Linked DNA regions of Homo sapiens: regions 1, 2 and 3 are each linked to region 4. The links are contacts of gene promoters, found by promoter capture Hi-C in blood cells and fetal thymus (Javierre and others, 2016). All regions are on one chromosome and are shown on one strand. The core of a region is centred on a gene start or on the middle of the fragment in contact, and the rest is flanking DNA. Distances in the headings are between cores, read along the strand shown. Region 1 overlaps MYO1H (myosin IH). Region 2 overlaps MYO1H (myosin IH). Region 3 overlaps UBE3B (ubiquitin protein ligase E3B). Region 4 holds the start of FAM222A-AS1 (FAM222A antisense RNA 1).

The links. The method cuts DNA at HindIII sites, captures the fragments that hold promoters and counts their contacts. A CHiCAGO score of 5 or more calls a contact.
Region 1: a contact is called between a fragment that was not itself captured here and the fragment with the promoter of FAM222A-AS1 in region 4, in 1 of 17 cell types (erythroblasts). The highest score is 5.1, in erythroblasts.
Region 2: a fragment that was not itself captured here is called in contact with the fragment with the promoter of FAM222A-AS1 in region 4 in 5 of 17 cell types (activated CD4 T cells, total CD4 T cells, naive CD8 T cells and 2 more); the score reaches 6.4 in activated CD4 T cells.
Region 3: a contact is called between a fragment that was not itself captured here and the fragment with the promoter of FAM222A-AS1 in region 4, in 5 of 17 cell types (M2 macrophages, endothelial precursors, M1 macrophages and 2 more). The highest score is 8.4, in M2 macrophages.

The regions. Positions count from the first base shown.
Region 1 is chr12:109,385,645-109,389,153 of GRCh38, reverse strand. It overlaps MYO1H (myosin IH), which reads right to left. Exons shown (of 32, transcript NM_001101421.4): 2 at 310-471. Among named protein-coding and RNA genes, the nearest start is that of LINC01486, 28 kb to the right of the region's middle. The HindIII fragment of the contact is 1,389 bases long and covers 949-2,337 here.
Region 2 is chr12:109,438,490-109,442,328 of GRCh38, reverse strand. It overlaps MYO1H (myosin IH), which reads right to left. Exons shown (of 32, transcript NM_001101421.4): 23 at 3,709-3,793; 24 at 2,539-2,698; 25 at 1,502-1,585; 26 at 621-714; 27 at 57-112. Among named protein-coding and RNA genes, the nearest start is that of KCTD10, 37 kb to the left of the region's middle. The HindIII fragment of the contact is 826 bases long and covers 1,661-2,486 here.
Region 3 is chr12:109,500,231-109,504,245 of GRCh38, reverse strand. UBE3B (ubiquitin protein ligase E3B) reads right to left here. Exons shown (of 28, transcript NM_130466.4): 13 at 2,712-2,875; 14 at 1,056-1,223. Among named protein-coding and RNA genes, the nearest start is that of UBE3B, 25 kb to the right of the region's middle. The HindIII fragment of the contact is 9,234 bases long and covers 1-4,015 here.
Region 4 is chr12:109,771,218-109,774,923 of GRCh38, reverse strand. FAM222A-AS1 (FAM222A antisense RNA 1) reads left to right here and starts at 1,437. Exons shown (of 3, transcript NR_026662.2): 1 at 1,437-1,627. RefSeq lists an enhancer at 2,349-2,848. The HindIII fragment of the contact is 7,576 bases long and covers 1-3,706 here.

The DNA.
Region 1 (3,509 bases), core at 394-2,893, 390 kb after region 4:
GAAAGCAGAGCAGAGATTGAGAAGGAGTTGCCAGACATTGTCTGAAACCCTAGATCTAGTCCCGGGACCTACAGTAACAGACATGGACAGATTCCTTTTAGTGACTTAGGCTGGTGTAAGTTGGGTCTCTGTCACGGGCAGCCATAAACGTCTTAGCACAAAGGATCGAAGTGCATCTAAGAGTGGCGCCTCAGTATCTCCCTTTAATGTCTAACCTAATAGAGTGCTATTATTCACACTCATCAAAGTCGTGAAGGCAAGAAGGGAACAACCACCCTAGAAAAACAGCTGAGAAGTGGGTCACGTTACGTATATGAGGTTCTCGCTGAAACGCTTGCGGAGGTTGTCGACAAAGGCAGATTCGCTGGTGTACGCGTCCAATAGCACAAAATCCTGAACCCCGACCTTGTCCCGGGCAGTCAGCGCCCCTTCCATGTGCAGACGGATGTGTTTCCTCCTCACGTCTTCTTTCTACGGGAAATAGAACATTCTTCAGCAGCTCATCTATTTGGTAATATCTATTACACGTCTAATGCATGGAAATAACAAGATGCTAAACCCTGGGATAGTAGAGAGCCAGCATTAAATTATGCCGTCTTCACTTAGAGTTTACAATATGGTTGGGGATACAAGATCATAATCATAAAAAATAGGAATAGCAGCAGCTGATAGGAACCAAGTATTTACTGCTAGGTACTATTCTAAACACTTGACTTATACTGTTTCATTTGATCTTCATTCTGACCCTATGAAATACTATTATGATGCCCATTCTACAGATGAGAAAACTGAGGCATAGGAATGTCATAAGCCACGCCCAAAATCTGCCAAAAGACGCAGCCAGAAAATGAACCTAGACAACATACCCAGACTTGCTTTCCTGACAACCATGGACTCAATAAATGTTTTTTTTAAATTAATGTTTCCTTTATGTTGATTAGTCAAGCTTGAATTTTTTCTTTTTTTAAAATTAATTTTTCTTTATTTCAATAAGTGTTAATTGTGTAAACTCACTTTGTAATTCTCACATGGGTGGTGAGGAGTTTGGGCCAGAAAGGGAAATTCTTGCTACAGAGGAATATTTAAGGAAGGACAAACTTGGAGTGTTCCTCTCCAAGGATGGGCTTCAGATGTCACTGGAGAAGGTGTGGCTACAGCCCATTGGATGGCAAAGAATCTCACCAGGATACCAGGGCCAGAGCTGGTTCGGTCACTGGGCAGGCACCAGGCATGACCTTCCTGAGCACCCGCGCTGCTGGATGGGAGACCATGGAGGGGGCCAAGGAAATCAACCTTCCAGGGCTCAGGCAAGCTGCGGCCAGAGGGCAGGTGTGCGTTGGGAGAGGGAACAGGAGTAGGTATGAAGCCTGGAGTGTGTAATGTCTGCATCAGGAGGGCTGTGACAAAGTGGTCACCAGGCCCTTGGCCAGAGCTGTGAGGTCACTGAGAGACTATGTGCTCTGGGCACACGGTTAGTGTGTGTCCCCCCCACATACCACGTGCAGCAGAATGTACAGTCTGAAAACAAGAAAAAGCAAAACATAGCAAAGGACATCAGGAAGAGAAGCGGCCTGCCTTTGCAATGTCCCTCCAGTGCCCTCTAGTGACAAAAATGACATTGTGTTCACTTTAAGGAGAAATGCCTAAAGCGTGCAGTTGGTTATTGCTCAGCAGGTAATGAAGGGTGAATTTGGATCTGAGAGGCAATAAATTGACAACTGGTACATATGGATATGCAAAGGTCCTAGCATAGCCAAATTAACCTTGCAAAAGAAAAACAAAGCTAGAATAAGACTGTGTTTAATAAGACTGCGTCTCAATTGATTTTCAGTAGAGGTCCCAAAACAATTCAGCACAGAAATGGAAAACATTTCCATCCAATGGTGCAGGAACAACTAGATATTTATAAAGAAAAAAAATTGCAGTTGTGTGTGGTGGCTCACAGCTGTGATCCCAGCACACTGGGATGCTGAGGCAGGAGGATTGTCTAAAGCCAGGAGTTGGAGACCAGCCTGGGCAACACAGGGAGATTCCCATCTCTACTTAAAAATATATAAATAGAAAAAGAAAGTAAAAATGCATTTCAGTCCCTATATTACATTACACTACACTACACACACACACACACACACACACACACACACACACACACACACACGAACTTGAGATGCATCTTAGACCTAAATGCAAATTTAAAATCTATATAAAGCTACTGGAAGTAAACAAGGGGACCATCTTTGTAACCAGGGGAAGGCAAAGTTTTCTTAGATGAGAGCCAGGAAGAAATAATAATAAAAGACACAAAATAAGAAATCAGACTTCACCAAATATAAAGCTTCTCATTAGAAGACACTGTTAAGAAAATAGGCAAGTCACAGAACAGCAGAAAATATTCCTAAATTATACAGACGCAAAGAATTTGTATCCAGAATAAAAGACACCTACAGTCCAATAATAAAAAGACAAACCCAATGAAAATTTGGCAAAAGACTTGAATAGACACTTCACAAAGGAAGATAGACAAATTGGCAATACACACATAGAAAAATGGTCAACATTGTTAGTCATCAGGGAAACACAAATTAAAACCACAATGAGATACCACCACAATAGTTAAAATTAAAAACACTGACAACACCAAATACTGGTGAGGATGCGGAGCAGACAGAATTCTCTCGCACTTCTGGTAGGAATGCAAAGAGAATCACTTTGGGAAAAAGATCTGGCAGTTTCTAATGAAGTTAACCATGCCTCTATTCTTTGATCCAGCGATTCCACTCCTAAGTATTTACACAAGAGAAATGTAAACATATGTCTACAAAAAGACTTGAACATGAAGTTCAACTCATGCTCAACTTTATTCAGAACGGCCCCTAACTGGAAACAATCCAAATCCCCATCAACTGGAGAATGGCTGTGGCCCATCTGTACAATAGAAGGAGGACAGCAATAAAAGAGAAATAACGGGTACACGCAAGAGCATGGATGACTCTCACAGACATTATGCTGAGTGAAAGAGCCCAGACACAAAAGAGTCGTACTGTAGGATTCCATTGATATGGCACACTGGGACAAGCAAAACTAATCCACAGTGAAAAATCAGAACAATTGTTGCCTAGTTGAGGAGTTGTCAGGCAAATGACATTTTTGGAGTGATGAAAACATTCCATATCATGATAGGGCTGTGGGTTACATGAGTATATCTATCGGTCAAGATAAACTGTTAAAATTGTGTGCATTTCACTATATGTAAATTTTATTTTTGAAAAACAACCGTAAAAAATAAGTGGGGAAGAGGTAGGGATTGGCTGGAGGTATGAATATAAACGGAATGGCAGAATGTTAATTGTTAAAGCTAGGTGGTGGGTAGAGGGGGATTTATGATACTATTCTGTTTACTTTGCATAAATTTGAAGTTTTCCATAAAAAAAGTTTTAAAAAACAGAATGGCCACCAGATGTCTCCCTACACTAGCCAAATGGAGCTAGAAGAGCCTTAATCACTAGCAA
Region 2 (3,839 bases), core at 824-3,323, 330 kb after region 4:
GCTCTTAGACTCGATGAGGGAATCCTGTTTGAGACTGAGGACACACATCGCCTTACCTGGATTTTCTCATGGCTAATTAGCTGAAGCACTTTCGGATTAATGTCTCCTTCATCTAGAGAGGGAACCAGAAGGCCATGAATCATCACTAAAGTACCAATCCTGTGGAAAAGTCATTGGTATCTGCTAGTTTTGTTATGCATCTCTGTGCTAAGATCTCAGGTGGGGAAATAGCCATCAGGAAATGCTGCAGAGTTGAGCATCTGCCTTTGACTTATTTTTTTGGAGACAGAGTCTCGCTCTGTCTCCCAGGCTGGAGTGCAGTGGCATGATCTCGGCTCACTGCGTCCTCCGCCTCCTGGGTTCAAGCCATTCTCCTGCCTCTGCCTCCCGAGTAGTTGGGACTACAGGTGGACACCACCACGCCCTGCTAATATTTTGTATTTTAGTTGAGATGGGGTTTCGCCATGTTGGCCAGGCTGGTCTCGAACTCCTGAGCTCAGGCAATCCGCCCACCTCGGCCTCCCAAAGTGCTGAGATTATGGGCATGAGCCACCGCACCCCACCCTTTAACTCCTTTTAGAATTGGAAAGCCAAGTACATAGGCTGGAAAATGTACTTACCTATCCGACTGTTGACAAAGGGTTGATTTAAACTTTCTGTGTAGCCGTCTTTCCTTCCCCTGAAGATTTCACTTGTAACTACCTTTTGCTGCATCTGGTAATACACAATTGAAAGTATAAAAATGGTAGCCACAGGCTTCTTTGGGATAGAAGAGCTCTAGACCCATTGAGGTCACATCCTTTGCTGGATAAACTGTGGGAGCCTTGTTACCCTGGAGCATACAAGTCAGAACACCTTCCTGGCTTTGGCCAAAATGCCCTGAAAGTCATATTGGTAGAGACTGGGTTGACGTTTCTGCTCGTTCCCTTACTACCTTCCTGAAAGTGGATTTTCCAGAGTTCCAAGAGCAGTTTCTTGTAGATCAGGGATTGGGAAACCACAGCCTGCAGGCCAAACTCAGCCTGCTGTCCCTTTTTGTAAGTAACATTCTATTGGGACAGAGCCATGCCATTCATGCACACATTGTCCATGGCTGCTTTCTCACTGTAGCAGCAGAGTTGAGTAATTCCAACAGAGAAAGGCCACAAACCCTGAAATAGTTACTCTTCTAGCCCTTTACACAAAAGACCCGCAGGTTAGCACGGTGAAAAACAGATTTCCAGCAGAAAGGGGTCTACATTCTCTGCTCCGGTGGATGGATGGCAGGAGCCGTTGTGATTGTGTTCCCATGGTAACAAACGGAGCCATGCTGATTACAGTAACAGCTGGCATTCATCCAGGGCTCTCTGCAGGTCTACCTGCAATTATCTTGAACATTTCAAAGCATGGGACTAGCATGACCCCCGCTTATAGGTGAAATGGTGGATGAGGAGGACTGACACTCAGGACCCACTCTTACACCCACCCCCACCACCGGCCACCGCAGACATCATGTCCCTACCATTGCTTTCCGCTCAGCTGTGATCCCGCGGCAGTACTTCTGCACCAGGTTCCTCACGCACATTTTCCTGAGCAGATCTGATGCCTGTGTGGAGAACACACTTCTTTCCACTTGCCTCACTCACTCCCTGTCTGGGGCTGTGGCGATCAAAATGAAGCTTTAAAAAAACACTGCTGAATTCAGTTTGATTTCAAGCACAGTGTTAATATTTTATATTTTATAGTCACAGCAGCTAACCTGATCCTCTCCCAACTTTTTGCTGTTGCTTAACGAATGATTCTCAAACTTGAATATGTTTATGACTCACCTGCAGAACTGGCTATAATGAGATTCCTGGAGATTCTGACTCAGTGGGTCCAAAGTGGAGCCCGGGACTCTTACAACAGCCCCGCCTCTAAGTTCCAGACACAGAGGGTCCTCAGATCATCTCTTGAGGGATGCTATTCTAGGAAGGCTACGTCAGGAATAGAAATGATTCGAAAGTACTCTGTCGGCTGGGCACGGTGACTCGCACCTGTAATCCCAGCACTTTGGGAGGCTGAGGCGGACAGATCATTTGAGGTCAGGAGTTCGAGACTAACCTGGCCAACATGGCAAAACTCCGTCTCTACTAAAAATACAAAAATTAGCCAGGCATGGTGGCGGGCGCCTGTAATCTCAGTTATTCAGGGGGGCTGACACACCAGAATCACTTGAGCCTAGGAGGCGGAGGTTGCAGTGAGCCAAGATCGCGCCACTGCACTCTAGCCTGGGTGACAGAGCAAGACTCCATCTCAAAAAAAAAAAAAAAGTGCTCTGTTTAAACAACCTCCAGTGGCTTTATAATGCTACTAAGGACACTCCAGTGGCTTTATAATGCTACTAAGGACATCGCAAATTCTGAGGAGTTCAATTTCTTGTGCAGCATCCTTGGGAAGAAGGGCTTTGCCAGGGCAGCCCTTTCAAGCCAAAGGGAGGCAGCACAAAGACATGCAAGAGTTAAGCTTCGTCAGTGCCCGTGCTACTTACAACACTGGAAATCCCAGATTAGTCCTTACATTTTCCAAGATGCCAGGAGGCCTCAGCCAGCTCTTGTCCAGGACAGTCTTTGGAAGGTGATACCGGAGATTCAAGATGTAATTCTTCCGCACAAACACGATAAATTCCTCGTTGTCAGGACAGAGGGGTTTGTTGCGACTGATGAATCCTTTAATGAACCTAAAAAGGAAAATGTTTTCTTACTTTTCTGGACCATTTCTTCACCGAGATTTACATTCTCTTCCCCCTTCTTTGATTCAGAGGCGGCCAAAGTGGTAGAGGCTGTGGAGATGACCACATAGGCCAGAGGCCAAATCTGCCCCACATATATGTTCGATTTCACCCACACGGCCTTTTGTTTTGTTTTGAGGAGCTTTAATTAGCTGCCAATTTTAAAAAGTTAGGAAGCAGGGCATAAAAGCCAGATTTCAAGGCTGGGCATGGTGGCTCATGCCTGTAATCCCAGCATTTTGGCAGGCTGAGGCAGGCGGATCATTTGAGGTCAAGAATTCGAGACTAGCCTGACCAACATGGTGAAACCCTGTCTCTCTACTAAAAATACAAAAAATTTAGCCGGGTGTGGTGGTGTGTGCCTGTAATCTCAGCTACTTGGAAGGCTGAGGCAGGAGAATCGCTTGAACCCAGAAGGCGGAGGTTGCAGTGAGCCGAGATCACACCATTGTACTCCAGCCTGGGCGACAGAGTGAGACTCCATCTCAAACAAAAAAAACAAACAACAACAACAAAACCCCAAAAGCCAGATTTCAGCGTTCCTTGAAAATTCAAGCCATCTGGCTACATTTCCCCACAGCAGCAGTAAACTGGAATGGGCTAGTTACCGCCCCACCTTGAGGTAGACTGAGCGTTCCAGTTTGCTGGTCTCCACCATGCCCTGTTGTCTTATCCCAGCCCATGAGACTCACTCACTTTACCTGCCTGGCATCAGAAGGCATTTGACTTTGTGACTTTTGAGCCAGGCTAAGAGAAATTCCAAATACATTGAGTTGTGATCACCATCAAATTCAGCTCAGAGCAAAGGGATGGACCTGAATTCCTAATGGCATTCTGAAGGGAGTTTTTCCTTTCTGCACAAATCAAAAAATCACAAAGAACTCATCTACCTCCATGACCATCCCTGCAGGGTACCAGCATTTAGTGACCTGTCCTCTCTGTTGTACCTGAGAACTTACTTTCTGATAATCCGCACGGCCCACTTTCTCCTTTGGATTGCCTTCCGAGCCAGGGCCCCACGCCAGTGGGCTTCCAGTTTGATGGCTGAAAGAGTTCACTGCTGGCATTAGAAGGTGAGCACAATCGTATG
Region 3 (4,015 bases), core at 1,406-3,905, 270 kb after region 4:
TATGAGTAGGGACCAGGGCTGCTAAACATCCCAAAACACACAAGACAGCCCCTCATGACAAAGAATGGGCCAGCCCAAGACATCCATAATGCTAAGGCTGAGAAATCCTGCTGTAGCCCAGGCCAACATCATCTCTCAGCATTTTCATTCTCACAGTGCCCATCATTACATGAGCCCTACTTTTTACTTGCTTATTTTCAGTCTCCCCACTACTAGAATACAATCCCCTTGAGAACGAAGAACTTGGCTCTCTCTTTCACCTCTGTATCCTCAGTGCCTGGCACACAGGGGTGCTCAATAAATATTTGAAGAATGGATAAATAAGTGTGAAAGAGAAGCAGTGATTTATGATGTTAAAAAATGTAAAATGCAGCAGAGAAGCTCTTAATCCTTCATGTAATAAAAGGCTTCCACGGTTTACAAAGGCCTTTTGTACTTGTAAGACCAATTCATAACAACAACTGTGCTGCAACCTAAAAGCCTGTGATACCCAATTCTGTGCTCACAGAGGGGACTTTCCTCCATGTTAAGCTAAAAAGGAAAATGTTGGGCATATCCATGTGATGAGATACTATGTAGCCAATAAAGATAAGGTTTTCGAAGAATTTGTGACATGGTAAAATGATTATTGGAAAGGAAAGCATAGTGCTGTATATTTCAATTTAAATATATTTATTTTATATGTGCAGTACACTCAGGCACAGTTGACTGTTTTTGGATTATGGAATTAAAAGTGGTTTTCTTTTTCCTTTTTTTTTTGCAACCCTATCTTTTTTGCTTCTTTACTCAGAAAACAGAAACTTTTTAAAAGTAAATTCTACTTCATAATTAAAGTAAGAGTCACAAAACAGGAATGAGATGCAAGTGCTTATGATTGAGGTGAGCATGAGCAATGTAACTGAGGTGGACTAATCTCTAAGAGGAACAGCTCAAAAATGCCCTCCTTCAGAATCTATTTTCAGAGTCAAAGAAGCCAGAAAAAAACATCGACTTTTGCTAAGACAAACTGTCTGCCAAATGTGAGAGGTGAAGAAGATGCCCTGGGGACTGCGAACCTGTGAGTATCTGCAGCCGAATCTGTGTGAGAGTTGTCAGCGAGGTCTGGTAGAGGACACAGATGTTGCAAACCTTCTGGACTTCTGCAGAGTCGACCCGTTTACCCCCGACAGGCCTGAGAATATTCCGGACTGATGCCGACTTTTGAAAAGCACGCTTTAGGAGACCTGGCATGGAGAAAAGAAGACATGTGAGCAGCAGCTCAGCCAGCTGCCAAATCCCACCCTGGAAAAGGAAGAGCATTTCAGTAAAGCTCTAAATGCACAGCCAGGCCAGACAGTGGGGCAACTCACTCAATTCAAGGCATTTCTTTGGGATAAATTAGAAAAACATTAACAACAGGTTTTTAGGTACAACCCAAAGATCTCTTCAGAATACCCAAATATTTCTCAGAATAAGCCAGGCATATTCAAATCTTACATGGGATTCTTATACTGGAAATCACCAAATTTCAAAACCCACAATGGTAAAAATTCAGAGGACTATATTAGGGAAAGAGGGGCAAAGGCAGGGGCCCTGGCTACATCTCTATTTTCTGTGCCTTTAGAGGGAAGTAAGGCGTGACAACCTCTAGTTCTGACACCTGGTTTTGAATGATATTCTACCTTTGTTTTCAACCTTCCCATTGATATCCTGCTGGAGTCACATTTGCTGAGCCCACGCTTACTGCTAGCTATGAGACAGAGTTTTGCAACACACTCAGTAGAAGAACAGACACCCTGAACCTGAAAACCCACCACAGGCAGGTAACTCTGTCAAATTATGCATTAGTGGCCTTTCCATAACTTTTAATAAGAGCGTGCAACGAGAACCTTCCCATGGAACCCATTACTGACCCTGCGATAGGAAAGCCACTGAAGCGCTAGCCCCGCCTGTGGTTCAGTGAGTGGCTCCTTTATAAGGAGTCCCACATGGGAGATTTATTTTCTTAAGAACTCAGAAAAGCTCTACTTCTAAGAAATTAGAAGAAAGCATCCACAGACCCCTTTTCATGTCGGTTTCTGAAACATTTCATGTTGGTTCACAGCCAAACTGAAGTTCACAGGTAGCCACAGTGGCCCTAATGTAACATATGTGTGTGGACATGCTTTTATGACCCAATCTTGATTGTGTTCACCTATTTCTATTTCCCCAATCCTTGTTTTCTATTCTTATGGATTTTTTGTTTTGCTATATATGAACTTAGTGACCTAACAAGCCTCAAAATTGTTGTGGAACAAGCTGGAGGCCAGGTATGGTGGCTCATATATGTCACCCCAGCACTTTGGGAGGCTGAGGTAGGAGGATCACTTGAGGTCAGGAATTGGAAACAAACCTGGGCAATAAGGTAAGGCCCCCATCTCTACAAAAATTAAAAAAAAAAAAAAATTAGCCAGGCATGGCAGTACACGCCTGTAGTCCCAGCTATTATACTTGGGAGGCTGACGTGGGAGGATCACCTGAGCCTAGGAGTTAGAGGCTAGTAAGCTATGATCATGCCACTGCACTGTAGCCTGGGCAATACAGTGAGACTCTGTCTCTAACAACAAGAACGATAACAACAAAAACAAAGTTAGAGCATCCCACAAACACAGCGGAACATCCATATAGGAAGAAACAGGAGCTGTACTTCAGCCAAGTGGAGCTACAGGGTTGGGCCTGCTCCCGTCACTCACTCTTCACTGGGAGCACATTCTGAGGGGATGCTGGCTGTGCGTGGGCTGGCTCCTGGCTCTCCAGTAGCTTCTTGCTCAGGATGTCACAGAAGAAGATCCGGATCAGAGGCACCCCCCACAAGAACTGCAGCTGTTTGGTGATCAAGTGCATTGACTCGTTAAGGCTAGGAGAGAGCAGAGGAGACCTGGTCTGTCAGTTCCATCTGATGCAGGGCCAGGGCCAGCCCACACAGTTCCTAATGGCCTTCCACTCGGAGCTGTAGCTAGGACCTGGCACTCAACATGGCAAAGAAGATTACAAAAATAAAAAGTGGAACTAACAAATCATTGCTGAGGGGCTGGTACGTCAAGGGCATTGACTCTTCATCTTGTCTGCTTTCCCCAGGTCCCCAAGCTCCATGAGTCACACTCTTCTCGAAGACACTTGCTACCACCCAGGTGACAAAAACAATCTTGTACCCACTGCACTGCCTCCCTCCTCATAGCTGGCTTGCAGGTGGTGGGGGGCCAAATCTAGATGACTCAGCAGCCTCCTCAGTGTTTCCTTGCATTCCAGGGGTTCCTTGCCTGACTCCACACTGCACTCAGCATCCCTCAACTTCCTGGAATCTGCTGTCACCTTCCTGCTCAAGAAGGTGAGGTGAGACTCCTAGTGGTTCCCACATTGATCATCATATTGTTAATAGCCGCCACCCCTGAGTACGGCCAGGCCTGCCTGCTGGTAGGTGCTTCACATGCATTATCTCATTCAATCTTTCTAGAAAGCCCTATCAAAGGGAGGGTGAAAATTATCCCCAGGTTTCAGATGAGGAAAGCAAGGCAAAGCAAGTCGTCCAAGTCCCTCCAAGAAGAGGAAGTGGAGCGGAGAGCAGGCTGTCTGCGGAGGTGCTGCTCTCCTTCACTTACCTCCCACAGCCTCCTGACTCTCAGCACCTCCGCCCCATCCTCCTCAGGCTGAGGTGTCACGCTGGGGCAGGCTGTTCCCTAGCAATGAGTCTTTTTAACTAGATAGGACCCAGGGATGTCACTCAGGTACAACAAAAGAAAAATTTGGGGATTTCCTCCCCAGGCCTTTAGTTTTCTGCTGCAAGGGTAACTGCCAGGGACCCCATGCCTCGAGCAGATATGTGAACAAGAAAACAGCTGGGGCAGCAGAGCTGGTTCCTCTCCAGAAACCACTTTATCTCAGCTCAGGTAGATATTTCAAATTCATGAAGCTGCACCTTACTTGATCTCCCTTCTTCTAGTCTAGTGTTTCTCATGTTTTTAAGTTCATAATTACACTTTTAAAAATTTATATTCCA
Region 4 (3,706 bases), core at 188-2,687:
CTCAGCATTTCCTGAAGTCTTGTTTGTTCCATGGGGTGTAAATAGGTGGAAACAAAAACTTAGGTGGTCAAAAAAGTTAGGGAAATGCTGGGTTAAAGCTAAAAGGGGGCTGGGCGTGGTGGCTCATGCCTGTAATCCCAGCACTTTGGGAGGCCTTCAAGGCAGGCAGATCACTTGAGGTCAGGAGTTTGAGACCAGCCTGGTCAACATGGCAAAACCCCATCTCTACTAAAAATACAAAAATTAGCCAGGTGTAGTGGAGCATGCCTGTAATCCCAGCTAATCAGGAGGCTGAGGCAGGAGAACCACTTGAACCTGGAAGGCAGAGGTTACAGTGAGCCGAGACTGTGCCACTGCAAAGAAGTTAAAAGGGAATCTTGCCTGCAGGATCTGTTAGCATCTTTAATATGTTAATGCGATTTGTGTATCTCCAAGAGCCGGGATAGGCATCTGTTTCTCAAACTCTTTTGACTGGGAAACCCACTTTCCAAGGTGACTTGGAAGTCAGCTGCACTAGGCAAGGATGGGAATACTCCACCTTTGTTATATGTCTTTTACCTAATGGCTCTGTGCTACCCAGGGGATTTGACCACCTGTCTCCTAAGTTAAACCTCACATGGTACATACATTAAAATATTAGCCTCATTTTATTTTATGAGACGAGGTCTTGTTCTGTTGCCCAGGCTGTAGTGCAGTGGTGCGATCATGGCTCACTGCAGCCTTGACCTCCTGGGCTCAAGTGATCCTCCCACCTCAGCCTTCTGAGTATCTGGGACTACAGGCACACACTACACCCAGCTAATCTTAAAATTGTTTGTACAGATAGGGGTCTCGTGATACTGCCCAAGCTGGTCTTGAACTCCTGGGCTCAAGTGATCCTCCAGCCTTTGCTTCCCAAAGTGCTGGGATTACAGGTATGAGCCACAGCTCCCCGTTGGAGCCTCATTTTACAGTTGGGAAATAGATGACTCAGGAGTGATCACTTGCCTGAGGTCACACACACCTGCACACAGCCTCAGGATGGAACGAGTTCTGACCCTCAGACAACTACATCCCACAGCACTCAGAGGGGTCCTCTTACAGGACGAATCTGCCCTATCATCCTGACCACACATCACCTGATGCCACCTCACTCCTCCAGGTGCCACCACTTCCTTCAACAGATCTGGAAATTGAGGCTCAGAGAGGCACACAAGTCACCCAGGGTCACACGTGGAGTCAGTGGGATACTAAGTTCCGTTTTCTTGCCTCCTCCCCTCCCCCTGCCACTCGCTGGCGAGCTGGTGATGGTGGCAATTTAAACAGAAAACCTTTCGTCCCTTGCTCTCACCTATCGCGCTGGCTGGACTCCACCTTCTCCGGCCAACGTTGGGGGTGGGACGGGGTGTGGGCCCTTTAAGAGCGCCCGGGAGGGATGGGCAGGCGCAGTGGTGCTGGGCACACGTGGAGCTGCGCGTGGAGGAGTCCAGGCTGCAGCCGAGGGAGCTGAGTAGGGCAAAGTTAGGAGTCGCTGTTTGGATGGCAAGTTCAGAAGTTGGAACTTGTCTCAGTTTCCCCGCTCCAGAAATGGGGTTGTGATATAAAGACAGGGATATGAGTGAAGAAAACACAGAGCCACCCTGGAAAGGTGAGTGTCTACTAACATAGCTTCCTCTATCCAAATCTGCGCCTGAGCCCCCGTGGCCTTCTGGGGCAGCTCTGATCTCTCTGTAAGGTCACCTGTCTCTGACCTGGGGTGATCTTCTAATGGTCACTATGACAGGAAGTGATAGCCGAGGTTTTCTGCACACCAGGCTACCGTATTGGACAGCTCCGTGGTAAAGGGTGTGAGCCCAGGACAGCTAAGTAGAGAGAGAAGGATCCTAGTGTCAGAACAGAGACCTAGAGAAGGACTGCAGCTCCTGCCCGGGGCCTGGATGAGATGGTGGCTTCTCCTCTCTTTCTCCCTCACCCACCGGGATGTCTGGGCAGTTGGGGCTCTGGGATCCAAGGCTGTGCCTGGGTTCTGGAGCCAAATTGGCCACATTTGGCGGTTGACAGTTGTTTTCTATTCTCTGCAAAGGGTTGCAGCTGGGAACTAGGACTCAGAATCAGACAGGCCTGTGTTCTATCCCAGCCACTTCTCCATTCTTCATCCTCAGCTGTGTGACTTTGGGCAAAGTGATTGCCCTTCTGTGGGTCTCACTAACCTTGTCTGTAATGTGGGTGCATGCACCTCTGTTGCGCCGAGTGGTTGTGAGGCACAAGTAACGTTTAGCCCCGAGCCTGGTATCTGGTCTGCCTGTAGTTAAGTGTGGGATCTCAGTAATTGTAGCAGTGATAGCAATGCTTTCGTCACCTGTCCTCCCCCCATCAATGTGGTAATCAAAGGTGATTGATTGTATAAAGAAACCATGCTAGAATGGCCACCGGAGGGCACTTTGAGATCAGCCAGCCCAGTTCCTAGATGGGGAAACTGAGGCCCAAGGAGGCACAGGTAGTCAGGGCTAGAGCCCCAGCTGGGTTCCTGGGCCCAGACCCAGACTGTGCCATGCGCCCCTACATTGCCACGCACACAGACCCCACCCTGTGGAGGATGAGGAGGTTTTTCCAGGATAGCAGGTGCATCCTTTGCTCTGATATCCAAATATGAGGGACCGGGCATGGAGAGTGGCTCCAGCCTCTCCCGTTTCCCCTCTCCTGATGCCCCAGTGTGGGTACGCCTGGCAGTTGACCAAGGACATGGGGACCTGGGTGACCAAGTTGGTGCTTGGGTGGCCCCAGTGGTGACACCTGGGAACAGCTGAGACATAGGCCACCTCCCAGTGTAACACCTGGCCCTAGACCTTGGTTTCCTGCCCCACTCCCTCCCCGAGTGCTCACACTGTGCTTTTGTCTGCTTGAATTCCATCTCTGGTTCTGGTGCCGCCCCCCCTTGGGAAATGGATTGGTTAGGGTCACTCACGGTGGCATTATCAGGATTGGAACCCAAGTCTAGCTCACTGCAGAGGCTGGGCCTGCTGGGCTTGCCCCGTCCAGGCTCCCCCGGGTTCCGGCTGCACCCAGGCGGGCTTTGATTATGAATGAGGGTGGGGGTGGGGCTTGCAGCCAGAACACCTCGCTCCCTCTCAACATCCTCGTGGCCGTTGGTCAGGTTGTGTCCTCATCTGTAAAATGGGCCTGATTTTATCATCTACCTGATAGACTCAAGTGAGGTCAGAAAAGCACTCTGTCAATTGCAGTTTATACTAGTTATGTCCTATTTGTGATGATTCCCGGTTGCCTTCCATGGAGCTCTGCTTTTCCCAGCTCCTCACCCTGCAGGGCCCGGCTCCTGCTCCCCAGGGGCTGGGGTGATGTGCTTGGCTCATTGACCCAGTGCAGAAGGGCCTGGGTCCCGCCCTGGACACAGTCCCTTCCTCTCGGAGCCTCTGTTTCCTCTTCTGTGGACTGGGTAGCATGTGCTGCCCGACGTGGATGCCTGGTCTCAGGGAGGTGGACCACCCACCACAGAGTCGAATCCAAGGCGTCCCCTCTGTCCCCATCTCTGCCCTGGACTTCACCATTGCCAGCCACCCTGGCAGGGCTCTGTGAATGGGAGGGGAGGCCTGCCTTAGCCGGAAGTTCTCCAGTGCCTCCGGCCCTGATATTGGGCTAGGAGGCTGGGAGAGAAGAGCTGGGAGGAGGCGAAGGCAGGAACGGGACACAGGGAAGAGTCCATGCTGTG